Regions from separate parts of the Homo sapiens genome. Here region 2 is linked to region 1. Evidence: promoter capture Hi-C in 16 types of primary human blood cells and fetal thymus (Javierre and others, 2016). All regions are on one chromosome and are shown on one strand. Each heading gives the region's core, a stretch centred on a gene start or on the middle of the fragment in contact. The rest is flanking DNA. Distances are from core to core; before and after follow the strand shown.

What was found. The method cuts DNA at HindIII sites, captures the fragments that hold promoters and counts their contacts. A CHiCAGO score of 5 or more calls a contact.
Region 2: a contact is called between a fragment that was not itself captured here and the fragment with the promoter of PALLD in region 1, in 1 of 17 cell types (activated CD4 T cells). The highest score is 5.1, in activated CD4 T cells.

The regions. Positions count from the first base shown.
Region 1 is chr4:168,493,319-168,499,983 of GRCh38, forward strand. PALLD (palladin, cytoskeletal associated protein) reads left to right here and starts at 3,734. Exons shown (of 22, transcript NM_001166108.2): 1 at 3,734-3,876. The region is part of intron 1 of LOC107986198 (a long non-coding RNA gene); the gene reads right to left. The HindIII fragment of the contact is 1,197 bases long and covers 2,929-4,125 here.
Region 2 is chr4:168,292,923-168,299,587 of GRCh38, forward strand. It overlaps DDX60 (DExD/H-box helicase 60), which reads right to left. Exons shown (of 38, transcript NM_017631.6): 7 at 865-1,023. Among named protein-coding and RNA genes, the nearest start is that of DDX60, 22 kb to the right of the region's middle. The HindIII fragment of the contact is 1,213 bases long and covers 2,250-3,462 here.

The sequences.
Region 1 (6,665 bases), core at 2,484-4,983:
GGTTAAAGGGAATAGAGGTGTGGTAGCCAACTGCCAAGATGACCACCAATGCATTGTCTTGCCAACTGGTTTTTACGCCTCTATGCAGTCTCCTCCCACAGTGGATACTGCCAATTTGTATAACTAAAGGATACTGCGGGAAAGACGAAATATGACCTCCAAGGCTGGATCATAAAAGATATAATGGGGCCGGGCGCGGTGGCTCACACCTGTAATCCCAAAACTATGGGAGGCTGAGGTGGGTGGATCACCTGAGGTCAGGAGTTTGTGACCAGCCTGGCCAACATGGTGAAACCCCATCTCTACTAAAAATACAAAAAAATATCTGGGCGTGGTGGTGGGCACCTGTAATCCCAGCTACTTGGGAGGCTGAGGCAGGAGAATCACTTGAACCCAGGAGGTGGAGGTTGCAGTGAGCTGAGGTCATGCCACTGCACTCCAGCAACAAGAGCAAAACTCCACTTTAAAAAAAAAGACATTGTGGCACAATCCAGCTGCCATGAAGCTAGGAAACTCAGGCAGTGACACAGAGAAGTCAACAGGGTTCCAGCCAATAACAGGACTAACTTTCCAGGCACGTGAGTGAGCTGCCTTGGAAGCAGATTTTCCAGCCCCAGCCATGCTTCCACCTGAAAGAAGCTGGGGCAACATCTTCAGTACTATCTCATGATACCCTGATCTGGAATTACCCAGCTAAGACTAATGGATTCCTGACACATAGAAACTGTGTGAAATAACAAATATATATTGTTTTAAGACATTAATTTTTGCAGTAATTTGTTATGAAGCAGTAGATAAGTTATATCTGATTTTGGAGGTGGAGGAGGTCTGTTTGTGTGATCTGTAAGAGGAACAGAGATGAAGATTCATAGAGAAAAGCAGGTCCAAAACCAATATGCCAACATATAGAATAGACAAATGGGTGCTGAGTCACCCAGAATAATGGCAGGGTGTGGAGTGAAGAAGAGAACCAAGAGCCCAACTAGATCCAAAGTCTTAATTTTAAAAAGTGGGATGGAGGATGGTTGATGCAAATATAAGTGCTTCAAAAGAGCAGGAATTTCTATAAGAAGAAGTAATCATTTGAAAGCTGAACTGGAGCCCCATGAAGGAGCCACAGACTCCCTTTCCCAACCTTCGTGCACACAGAAATGGGCTCTGGTGGAAAATATGAAAGTGCATGAGAAATGATATTACTGTCCACACACTAATCTCATCCTTAATATCAACTGGACCTTGCTATACTAACTTAAGAGTGTTGATCAAACTTTCTAAATTTTTTTGATGCCAATTTTCTAAGGAAAAGAACTTCTTATAAGATTTTTAAAACAAGCTTGGTTTGCTGCACTATTTGCAATACACACACAAAAAGGTCACATTTCTGTGTCCTTTTGAGTAAAGTCATATCCATCTTTGAAGCCTCTCTCAGGACCACAAGCTGTTTTTTTTTCTTTTTTCTTCTTATGGCTTCATCACTTCACTGGTGTTATACCAGGATTTAGGAACCAAGCAATCCAAAGAAATGTGGGAGAGGCCTCGTCTGGCCAGTAGTCCAACATGATTGCCTCTGGAATTCACCATGAGACTCACAGTTCACCAGAAGGCAGAGGCAAAAATCAGAGTTGCCAATTAAAATTATTTCTAAAGATGGGTTCACTGCTTCCTATTCCCAAGCCTTTCTGAGACTCCATGGGGTGAATCACTTGCTTCTTTTCTGTATCTCCTCCTGCAGGCATTTAAGCTTTGTAATTTAGTTACATGCATACTTATATTTATCTCTTTCCAACAATTTTGTTCATTTCTGATATCTTCTATTGTCTTCCCTCCCAATTTCTGCCCTTTTCAGTTTTTACTATTATCTTGTGGTTTTAGGAAAAAGCAGATATAAATATGTGTTTAAGCAATGCTATGGTTTGAAGGTTTTTGTCCCCTTCAAAATTTTTGTTGATTCCTAATCCCCTATGCAACAGTATCAGGAGGTGTAACGTTTAGAAGGTGATTCAGGAGGACTCCTCATGAATGGGATTTGATGCCCTTAGGGCTTGATGGAGGAAGTTTGACCCCCTCTTGCCCTTCCACCTTCTGCCATGTGAGGACACAGTGCTCAAGGCATCACTGTGGAAGCAGAGACAGGAACTTCACCAGACAACAAACCTGCTGGCACCTTGATCTTAGACTTCCCAGCCTCCAGAACTATGAGAAATCAATTTCTGTTCTTTGTAAATTACCCAGTCTGTGGCATTTTGTTATAATGACACAAACTAAGACAATCAATCAGAGTTATATTTCCTTGTAAGTATAAATTTTATTTTTTTATTTTTATTTTTATTTTTTTTAAGAAGGAGTCTCGCTCTGTCACCCAGGCTGGAGTGCAGTGATGGGATCTCGGCTCACTGCAAGCTCCGCCTCCCGGGTTCACACCATTCTCCTGCCTCAGCCTCCCAAGTGGCTGGGACTACAGGCACCCGCCACCACGCCCAGCTAATTTTTTGTATTTTTAGTAGAGAGGGGGTTTCACTGTGTTAGCCAGGATGGTCTCAATCTCCTGACCTCATGATCCACCCACCTCGGCCTCCCAAAGTACTGCAATTACAGGCATAAGCCACCACGCCCAGCCGTAAGTATAAATTTTAAAATCACTTCTTAATTAATATAATAGATGAAATGACCCACAGAAGTATCCACTCACAGAAAGGACCATTTCTAAAGGACCAGTTTGGCCTATAAAGAAAATACAATAGCAGACCTTCACAAATTTTCTAACATCAGAAAAGAAAAAATATTTAGATATTAAACTGAATCAAATGTGATGGTCTTACCCAGACAAAGGAAGACTCAGCACCCCATTTCCAAGTTAACTGGGAGCTTTTGTGTTGCTCTTTTTGCCCCCCTTATATTTGATTCTGCTACCTGACCTTTAAACAGAAAAGCTTTCTCTTCTTGCTATCTATGTTTGTTATTTAAAAGATCAAAATATTAAACTCTTGCTATATCTATTTGTCATTTGAAAGATCAAAATATTAAATGATTGTGAAACATTTTTTGCAACTGTAAGAGGGTTGATACTTTTCCTGAATATTATTCATTCAACATTCATTTATTTCTTTGACAAATATTTAAGAGATGCTCATGATGTCCTAGGCATTGAGCTAAGAACTCAATGTTGCAATGTGGATAAGATCCAGTCCCTGTGTGTTCATACTTATTTAATACTATTATAGACAAGGCCTTTAATACATACCATAGTCATATATCAATTTTTAATTAGCAATATGAAATAAGAGAACAATGGGACTTTCCACTCAATTTGACAGGTGGCTAAATTTTCAGTTACTGAATTTACTATTTTAGGGTAATCTAGCACATGACCAAAATTTAAATGCACAGAACAGAAGATCAGAGTAAGAAGAGCTTCCATTTGGATTATCACTTTTTCTACTTGGAGTCACATACTGTACTTTAAATTGATTAAGAACATGTTAAAGGTCCAGGTGGTGATTTCCAGCTACAAGTCCAAAGTATAGAAGAATGTGTTTAAATCCTACGTTTATCAGATCCATAAATATAGTTCCTTCTATGTTAAGTGGCTTTATTTCTAAGAACCCAGCCCTCGGTCCTGGGGGTGCTTCCCAGCCCGCTGCTGGAATTCCTGATCGTGGCAGTCTGCTGAAACATGAGCTCAGTTACCAAATATAGCTGAGTGGAGTAAGAGGACAGATGAGAGTCTGAGGCCACAGTTGCCTCAAAGTGACCACGGACCAGGCAGTCTCTAATGAATAGGCAAGGCCACAACCTCCATTCTCCCAGAAAAGAAGAAATGCTCATCTGAAATTCATCACCTCTCTGGAGTCTTCAAACTGACCAAGCATTGAAAAGGTCTGTAAGGTGTATCTTAATATACTAACTAGTAGGGCAACATTTTAAGGACTTAAAAAAAAAAAAACTAAAAATACAAAAGTTTTTCTGAAGATATGATACTATTTACAAGATACCTTAATTATTCTTTTGCTTGGAGAGGAAACGTAATGAGAATGTTACGGTTTTGCCAAAAACAGATAATACGTAAGATTTGCCTGCCCACTTCATCTCTGCCTTTGCTGTCAGAGAATTACACTTTCTGTTATAAGCTTAAGCATGCTAAGATGGTGCTATCAATTCCAAAAGGATTAAATGTATTTATGGAGCCAGCTTTTGTCAAGATCGTGTATGTGTTATGTTTCACAGAAAAGGAAAACGCAGCTTTCTAGACCCTCACCCATATTTAAGCTAGATAAGTGATGATGGCTTAAAGTGATAGACCTTAGATTTCAGTAACATTATAAATTGTTAATTACACTTTCAAAAGATTCTAAAAGTAACTCACTGGACATAATTAAATGAGTTGGGATAGTAACAGCAGGTATTTTAAATTATATTCATGCATAAAATTTACATACATATTTTTAATAAGATAACGCTTACTAAGGGAAACCACAGTGCAATCTCGAGTCCAGTCAAGTTTAAACATCACAGAATAATTTTTATCATGTTGTTTTAAGTTGCACATGAAATTGTCTTGAATCCAATATAGGAGGTTGACATAAAATGATTTCAGGCTCATATTACTTATTAACATTTGCTAAAAATACTAATTGCCTTCTAGTATGAATAATGTGGTGACATATAAAGCCATTTCTTGGCAATATAAAACTATTACAAATCTATTCAATCACATATATGCAGAAATTAAATCCTCATTTCATGATAAATGTGCCTTCCAATGTTTTTTCTCACAGAAAGAACTTGAATACTCACCTCAATTATTCAGATTTTTTTTTCAGATTTTTAAAATCAAAGTCTCTTTGACAAGTTATTGCTAACAGCAGAAAAGGCCGATGAGGTTTATCTGGCCACTAACTGCCCTGTAAATACATGATTACACATTCCTAGAATATAAATTAGTCCTCTGGCATCCTAGAATCTGGTATGGATTAGGGTCTGTATCCCAGGGGTTCTGTGTCAGCTCTTCCTCTGGGTTTCTCTGTTATTGCTAGAGCTGAATATTAAAACTGGCCTTATAGCATATTTCACAATAGAATGAGGATCTGGATTGCACTGGACAAGTACAATCACTTTGACCTCCTTACCTCATTTTTTAAAAATGTAGAGGGCAATCATTATTCAGGTTTAAAAATAAATATGACAAGTTCTTTAAGAGATACCAAGTGGAATCTGCAAGGCCCAGACAAGAGCTCCACTTCTTAAACAATATGTGTGTGGAGGCTGTCAAAGGGTATTGCAATTACTGAGCTCCAGTTAGAAATTCAGGCCATCTAGAGTTAATGACTGTGTCCCGGTGAAATTACAGCAAAGAAAACAAAGATTGAACAAAGTATCTTCGACTAAAATTTCTAACTGTTAAATCATATTAGAGAATATAGAAGCAAATTTGGTAAATAGGTTTTGAATTTAAGTGAGAAGAATAAAGCCCTGAATTGGATAATGGTAATGGAAATGGATAATTCAGAAGTAAAATCTAAATATTTGCAATGGACTCAGTATGGTGAATAAAGTTGATAAGATGAACAGGACATGGGATAACTTCAAAAACTCTGTAAAGTATCTTATTTGGCTGTTTCTGCATTAAATGAGCTATTAGATTATGTCCTTGAAATTGAGATTAAATAAGCTGTTTAAAGAGATATTTAAAACTGTAGGATAAATATATCTGCCTGCATTGACAATTTAATAATTAGAAAGGAAAATAATCCATGTGTATTTATTAAGAAATAAATTATAAAATTGTAGTGCATTTTCTGCATCAAACATAAAATTTCATAAAATTTTCGTGTTTGACTTTTGCCCTAAAGGACCCTTTGTAGCAAAAAAAAAAAAAAAAAAAAAAAAAAGGAAGGAAGAAAGAAAGGGAGACGGGGAAGAAGGAAGGGAGAAGGGAGGGAGGAAGGGAGGGAGGATGGGAGGGAGGATGGGAGGGAGGATGGGAGGGAGGAAGGGAGGGAGACATGGAAGAAGGGGGAAGGGAGGCAGAAGGGAGGGAGGGGGGAGGGAGGAAGGGAGGGACTTTATTGATTTAGTCTAGGGGGGTTGCCTGTGATTCTGAAGCATGAAAATTAAGTGTTAAAGCTTTTCTAACTTTGGTTTTCATAGTTTAGGTTTTATTAAAAGATATTTCAATATCTAATATTTGTATCAATGGTTTGCATTACTTTTTTAGTAATTGCTTAAATATGAAAATAAAACTGCTAAACCTAAAATTAAAAATCACTTATAACTTTTTTTCAAAAATTACAAAATAAGCAACAAAAGATCCCCCTGCATGTCCCACCTTTCAACTCCTACCCCTGCCTAAATCCCCCCACAGAGGTCAGTGTTGATTGTTTGGTGTATGTTATTCCAACCATTTTCATATATTTATTCCTATCTATGTATACATTTTTAAATGACTATGGGAATTTAGCTATTCCACCTGGACTCTCTAAAGAATCTGCTGAATGTGGTACATGGTATTAAGTGATCCTTACTGCCTGTCAATGTTTTTCTAACATCAAACTTTTTCTTTCAAAATTGTAGCAGTTCTTCATCGACTCAAAGTATTTCACAAACAGACTTCAAAAGTTTTCCCCTTATCTAAATTTTTAAAGTAATTTCCTATAATATCTCCAATG
Region 2 (6,665 bases), core at 1,606-4,105, 200 kb before region 1:
TCAATCTGATAATTGGAAAAACAATTATAAGGATGCTAAGTAAAAGATAATGAGCCCTGAATATTTCTGAAATGTTCAGAAACTTCATTTCTCTTTAATAGAAACCTTCAGCCAAGAATCCCCCAGTAGGTAGATTGTATACAGAATAGTATGTATACACATGCGTCTGAGTGTGTAAGTGTGTGTGTGTATGTGTAAACACGCACACCCATAAGCACATATACTTAGAGACAACTGTATATTGGGGGAAGGAAAACAGACTGGCCAACAGATTCTTAATGGACCCTACTGGCCATAAAGAAAGTTAAAAACTTTAGTATCTCTCCAGCTAGGATGACGCCAAGACACTACAGCAGGAAGGTTCTTTCAAAAGACACTTTGATATTGTGGAACTTGCACAAGATGGACCGGAGTTCAATCCACCTTGCTATTTAGTACGTTTGGTTTGAAAAATGTTACCTGGACTATTTGAACTTCAGTGTTCTCATAGGTGAAATGGGAATACTAATGCCTTTCTCACAATGCTGTTGTGAGGATTTAAGGGCACAATGCATACAAAAAGCCCAAAACATACTAGCATATTAGGCCTCCACCAAGTGCTAATATCCTGTCTTGTTTCATTTTCTTTTGGATGATTTAGACTAAATATATACTAAGTGAAACATGCACATAGTAAAACATTAAATCATTTAATGGCACAATAAGTGTTTCCTGATAGACACAAATTTCAGTTTTATTTTCTGAAGTTTATATAAATAAGAGAAAAACATGAAGTACCAAATAGAGGAAATGAAAGATACAAATCAACAAAATTTCAAATGTGGAGAGAAATAGTATTTCTCAGTAAAGTTATAAAAACCACACCTGTTGGATCTCAGTTTCCTGACCAGAGGAGGGCTCTCTGTTTCCTAAAAAGCGATGGTACATTCTCAAAGATAATGAGCATGAAGTAACACAAAAGACACGCCGAATGTCAGATCCTTCTGGCCAGACTTGTGTAAGCAGAGATACAGTCTTGTGTGCCTGTCAAAGAAAAAAATTGTAATGTGTCATGCTATTTAGAAAAATATTTTTATTTGTAAGTGATCTTACTAGTGGGTACTACTAGGCTTAATACATGTGTGACAAAATAATCTGTACAACAAACCCCCGTGACACAAGTTTACCTCCATAAAAAACCTACACATATACCCCTGAACTTAAAGTTAAAAAAATGAAATAATAAAATTTTTCTGAGACGAAAGGAAACCTGTGTACATAGAATAAAAGAGCTCACTGTATAACAAGAGAAACAATGAAATGAAATTAGATCCTCACACCATATGCAAAAAGCAACTCAAAATGGATTAAAGACTTACATACAAGACTTGAAAGTGTAAAACTACTAGAAGAAAACATAGGAGGAAAGCTCCACAACATTGGTCTGGGCAATGATATTTTGGATACGGCCACAAAAGCACAGGCAACAAAAGCAAAAATAGCCAAATGGGATGGCATCAAAGTAAACATCTTCTGCACAGCAAATGAAAGAGGCAGTCCACAGATTTTGCAAACGATACATTTATTTATTTATTTATTTATTTATTTATTTATTTAGAGACAGGGTCTCACTCTATCACCCAGACTGGAGTGCAGTGGCCCAATCTCAGCTCATTGCAATCTCTGCCTCCCAGGCTCAAGCGATTCTCTTGCCTCAGCCTCCCAAGTAGCTAGGATTACAGGCATGTGCCACTACTGCCAGGCTAATTTTTGTATTTTTAGTAGAGATGGGATTTCACCATGTTGGCCAGGCTGGTCTCAAACTAATCACCTCAAATGATCCACCCACCTAGGCCTCCCAAAGTGCTGGGATTACAGGTATGAGCCACCGCGCCCAGCCAAACTATACATTTAATAAGGAGTTAAGATCTAAAGTATAGAAACAACTCAAACTCAATAGTAAGAAAACAAATAATCCCATTTAAAAATAGACAAACGACCTGGACAGTCATTACTAAAAACACACAAACAAACAAAAAACCCAACGGCCAATAGGTACATGAAAGATATGCTCAGCGTTAATAATTATACCAATAATTAGGCAAATGCAAATTAAAACTACAATGAGATATCACCTCACATCTGTCAGAAGGGCTTTTATCAAAAAGATGAAAGATAACAAGTGTCAGAGAGGAAGCAGAGAAAAGAGAACTCTAATACATTGTTGGTAGGAATGTAAATCAGTACAGGCATTATGTAAAACGATATGAAGCTTCCTCAAAAAACTACAATTAGAACTATCATAGGACCCAGTAATCCCATGTCTGGGTATGTATCCAAAGGAACCGAAATTAGTATGGTTAAAGCAAACTAAATATGGCTGGAGAAGGACTTCGTACTTCTATATTTGAATCCTTCTGGATGAATTGCAATGTAACTTAATAGGTAGACAAGATTGAAAACCTAGTTTAGGAGTATGTTCTTGTAACAGTCGCTGTCTTGGCCAATCCCTTACTTCAATCACTCATACACTGCTGAGCGTTCAAACTGTGTTCAAATAAGGCAAATGCAGAGTTGTACCCAATCCAGCTATTCTGTACCTCACTTCCGATTCCTGTATGTCACTTTACATTTTTTGTCTATAAGTTTGTTCAGACCATGAGGCACCCCTGGAGTCTCTCTGAATCTGCTGTGATTCTGGAGGCTGCCTGATATGTGAATCGTTCATTGCTCAATTAAACTCCTTTAAATTTAATTCAGCTGAAGTTTTTCTTTTAACAGTATTTCGAAGGTATATCTGCACTCCCATGTTCATTGACACATTGTTCACAACAATCAAGACGTGGATCAACCTAAGTGTTTATCAACAGATGAACGGACAGTGAAAATGAGGTATATATACACAATGGAATACTATTGAGCATTTAAAACGGGGGGAAATCCTGTCATTTTCAACAACATGAATGAATCTGGAGGATATTATGCTAGGTGAAATAAGCCAAGACAAAGAGACAAATACCAAATGATCTCACTTATATGTAGAATCTAACGAAGTTGAACTCATAGAAATAGAGAAGAGAAACTCTTCTCTTCAGAGGGTGAGGGGAGAAACGGAGACTTGCTGACCCAAGGGTACAAACTTTCAGATAAAAAAGAGGAATGGGTTTTGAGATCTATTATACAGCAGGATGACTACAACCAATAATAATGTCATATATTTCAAAATAAGTGCATAAATTTCAAATGTCTCACAATAAAAAATGATAGGTAAGCAAGGTGATGGATATGTTAATTAGCTCCATGTAATCATGTCACGTTGTATACATATATCAAAACAAAACGTTGTACTTCATAAATATATAGTTATGATGTGTCAATCAAAAATATTTTTTTAATTTAAAATTTTTAAAAAGAATAGAAACTATTTAAAAGGAACTACCTAAGGGGACAATTTTCTGAAAACAGGTTTGGGAAAGAAAAGGAAGCTTTAAAAAAGGAAGAAGTATCCTTTGGCAATTAAGTGGCGAAAGAGTAAAAGAAGACAAAGAAGAATTTGAGGGCTCTGCAAGTCAGAAGAAAAGCAGGTAATTTGAAGACCCAAAACCACTCACCCACTACCAAACAAATAAATAAACAAACTAACAAAAACCCCACTAACATGCCTGGATTCTGACAAGCTGGCAGAAAAAGATAACATTAAATTAAATTATATTAAATTAATTGGATTGGATTAAATCGAATTAAAGTATCTTGTAACAAACCTCGGTATCATTAAAATGAAAAGAAAGTACATAGAGAGCTATTACAAAAAATAATAGCAGGAAAAAAAATTCACACAAATTGTGTGAAAAATCTCATCATTATCTCCAAAAGTAGTAATAATATCAGCAATTATAAAGCAGAAGAAATCTCTAAGTCTACATTCTAAATATGGATATACTCAAACAAGCATTCGAACATACAAAAAGTGATCTTTTTTTTTTTTTTTTTGAGGCGGAGTCTCACTCTGTCACCAGGCTGCAGTACAGTGGCATGATCTGGGCCCACAGGAACCTCCACCTCCTGGGTTCGGCAATCTCAGCTCACTGCAACTGCCATCTCCAGGTTCACGCGATTCTCCTGCCTCAGCCTCCCGAGTAGCTGGGACTACAGGCATGCACCACCATGCCCGGCTAATTCTTGTATTTTTAGTAGAGACGGGGTTTCACCATGATGGTGAGAATGGTCTCAATCTCTTGACCTTGTGATTCACCTACCTTGGCCTCCCAAAGTGCTGGGATTACAGGCATAAGCCACCACGCCCAGCCAAAAAATGATCTTTATTCAGCAACTGATAAACCAAAAACAGGGCTGGAAAGAAAGAAAGAAAAAGAAAGAAAGAAAGAGAGAGAGAGACGAAAGAAAGAAAGAAAGAAAGAAAGAAAGAAAGAAAGAAAGAAAGAAAGAAAGAAAGAAAGAAAGAAAGAAAGAAAGAAAGAAAGAGAAAGAAAGAAAGAAAGAAAGACAATAAATAATTAATTCCGCAAAATAATCATAGAAAAATGCAAAGCTATGCAGAAATAAAGAATAAGTTACAAGATGCCCAAAGGAGAATAATCTCAATAAAATTTAATGAAGACAGGTAGGAAAACAACCAAATGACATAAAATAAAAACCAAAAAAGGTCAGAAAAATAATAGTGGAAATGAAAGACAGAAAAATATTTGTATCATTGCACATCTTATCAAAAACAAAACTGGGCCAGGTGCGGTGGCTCATGCCTATAATCCCAGCACTTTGGGAGGCTGGGGCCAGGAGTTCGAGACCAGCCTAGAAAACATGACAAAAGCTCATTTCTAATAAAAATTAGCCAGGTGTGGTGGCACAGGCCTGTAGTTCCAGCTACTTGGGAGGCTGAGGGGGAAGAATTGCTTGAATCAGGGAGGCAAGGAGGTTGCTGTGATCGTGTCACTGCACTCTAGCTTGGGCAATAGAACAAGACTCTGTCTCAATGAAAAATAATAAATAATAAAATAATAGTAATAATGATAATTTAATAATAAAATTAATATTTTTAAAATAATAATCCTAGAAAACCCACTATACACAATAAATGAGTGCTAATGGATACTGAGAAAAATTAAAACTTCAGAAACCAAATAGTGAAAGGTAAAATAAGGAAACAGAGAATTGAGATTATTCTTTTTATAAAAATGGTACAGCATGGTAATTACAAACGTAATTACCATAACGAAACATGTAAAACAGCCCAAAGTTTAAAATTGTTTAAATAAAATAACAAAGAATACACATATCGTAAAGAAACTTAACAAACACACCAGAATACAAATGCCTATAATATATTATAGAATCAAGACCAAACGTATCAGTCATAACAGTAAATGTGAGACTTACCTATAAAAGAAAAAATAATTTCAACTTGCACCACATTCCATATATAAGACACACAACTAAAACAAAGTGATTCAGAAATACTAAAAATAAAGGAATGGACATAATTCTATCAGGTAAATGGAAACTAAAAGAGAGCAGAAGTTAGTATCTTTATATTGGGCTAAGTAGAATTCAAACTCAAAAGCATTACATGTGAAAAAGAAAAGCAGTCTTTTATTCTAAAAGCCACAATCTATAATGAAAAGATAATCCTTATGAAAAATTATCCAACATATGCATGGCAACCAACTTTGTGAAACAAAAATGACAAAAGATAAAAGAAACTCTATAGAGAAACTCACCTATAGTAACAAATTTTAAAACACAAGAGAGACAGCTGGACAAAAAAATAAGTTAAGGGATAAAAGACAAACCACCATAATCAACAGAGTAGACCTTATGAATCAAACTACATTGTGGTGATAGGGAATCTTCATTTGTCTTAAATGTCCCCAGCACATCCATAAAAATTAACTATATGTTAACATCTTCATAATACAATAAAGGTAGTGGAAAAAAAAAAGAAATTTTAAAAATCATGAACGTAGCCGGGCACGGTGGCTCATGCCTGTAATCCCAGCACGTTGGGAGGCCAAGGAGGGCAGATCATGAGGTCAAGAGATTGAAACCATCCTGGCCAACTTGGTGAAATCCCGTCTCTACTAAAAATACAAAAATTAGCTGGGCTTGGTGGCATGAGCCTGTAGTCCCAGCTACTCGGAAGGCTGAGGCAGGAGAATTGCTTGAACCCAGGAGGTGGAGGATGCAGTGAACCGAGATTGTGCCACTGCACTCTGGCCTGGCGACAGAGCGAGACTGTCTCAAAAAAAAAAAAAAAAAAAAAAAAAAATCACAAACGTGCTTTAATCTGGAACTTAAAAACATTTCTATTCGGTCAAACTTGGGTGAAAGGAAATACAAACTAAAATTACAGAATTTATTTTTTTAATGACAAAAAATTTACAGCATAATCTATGGGCTATATTTAAAGCAGTGATTCAGAGGAAAGTTTATTTCACTAAATATGTTTAACAATAAAAATAAACGAATTTTAAAAATGAGTAAGTTCCCAGCCCCCCCAAAAATCTAAAAGAAACAACAACATAAAAACCAAAAAAGTAAGATGAAAGAAAGCACAAAATAAATTAAAAAATCAACAGATCTCATTAATAAATCAAAATTCTTGGTTTTAAATAACTTAAAAACAGACAAACCACTAGCTAACCTGATCATAAAAAAAAACCAAGAGAATT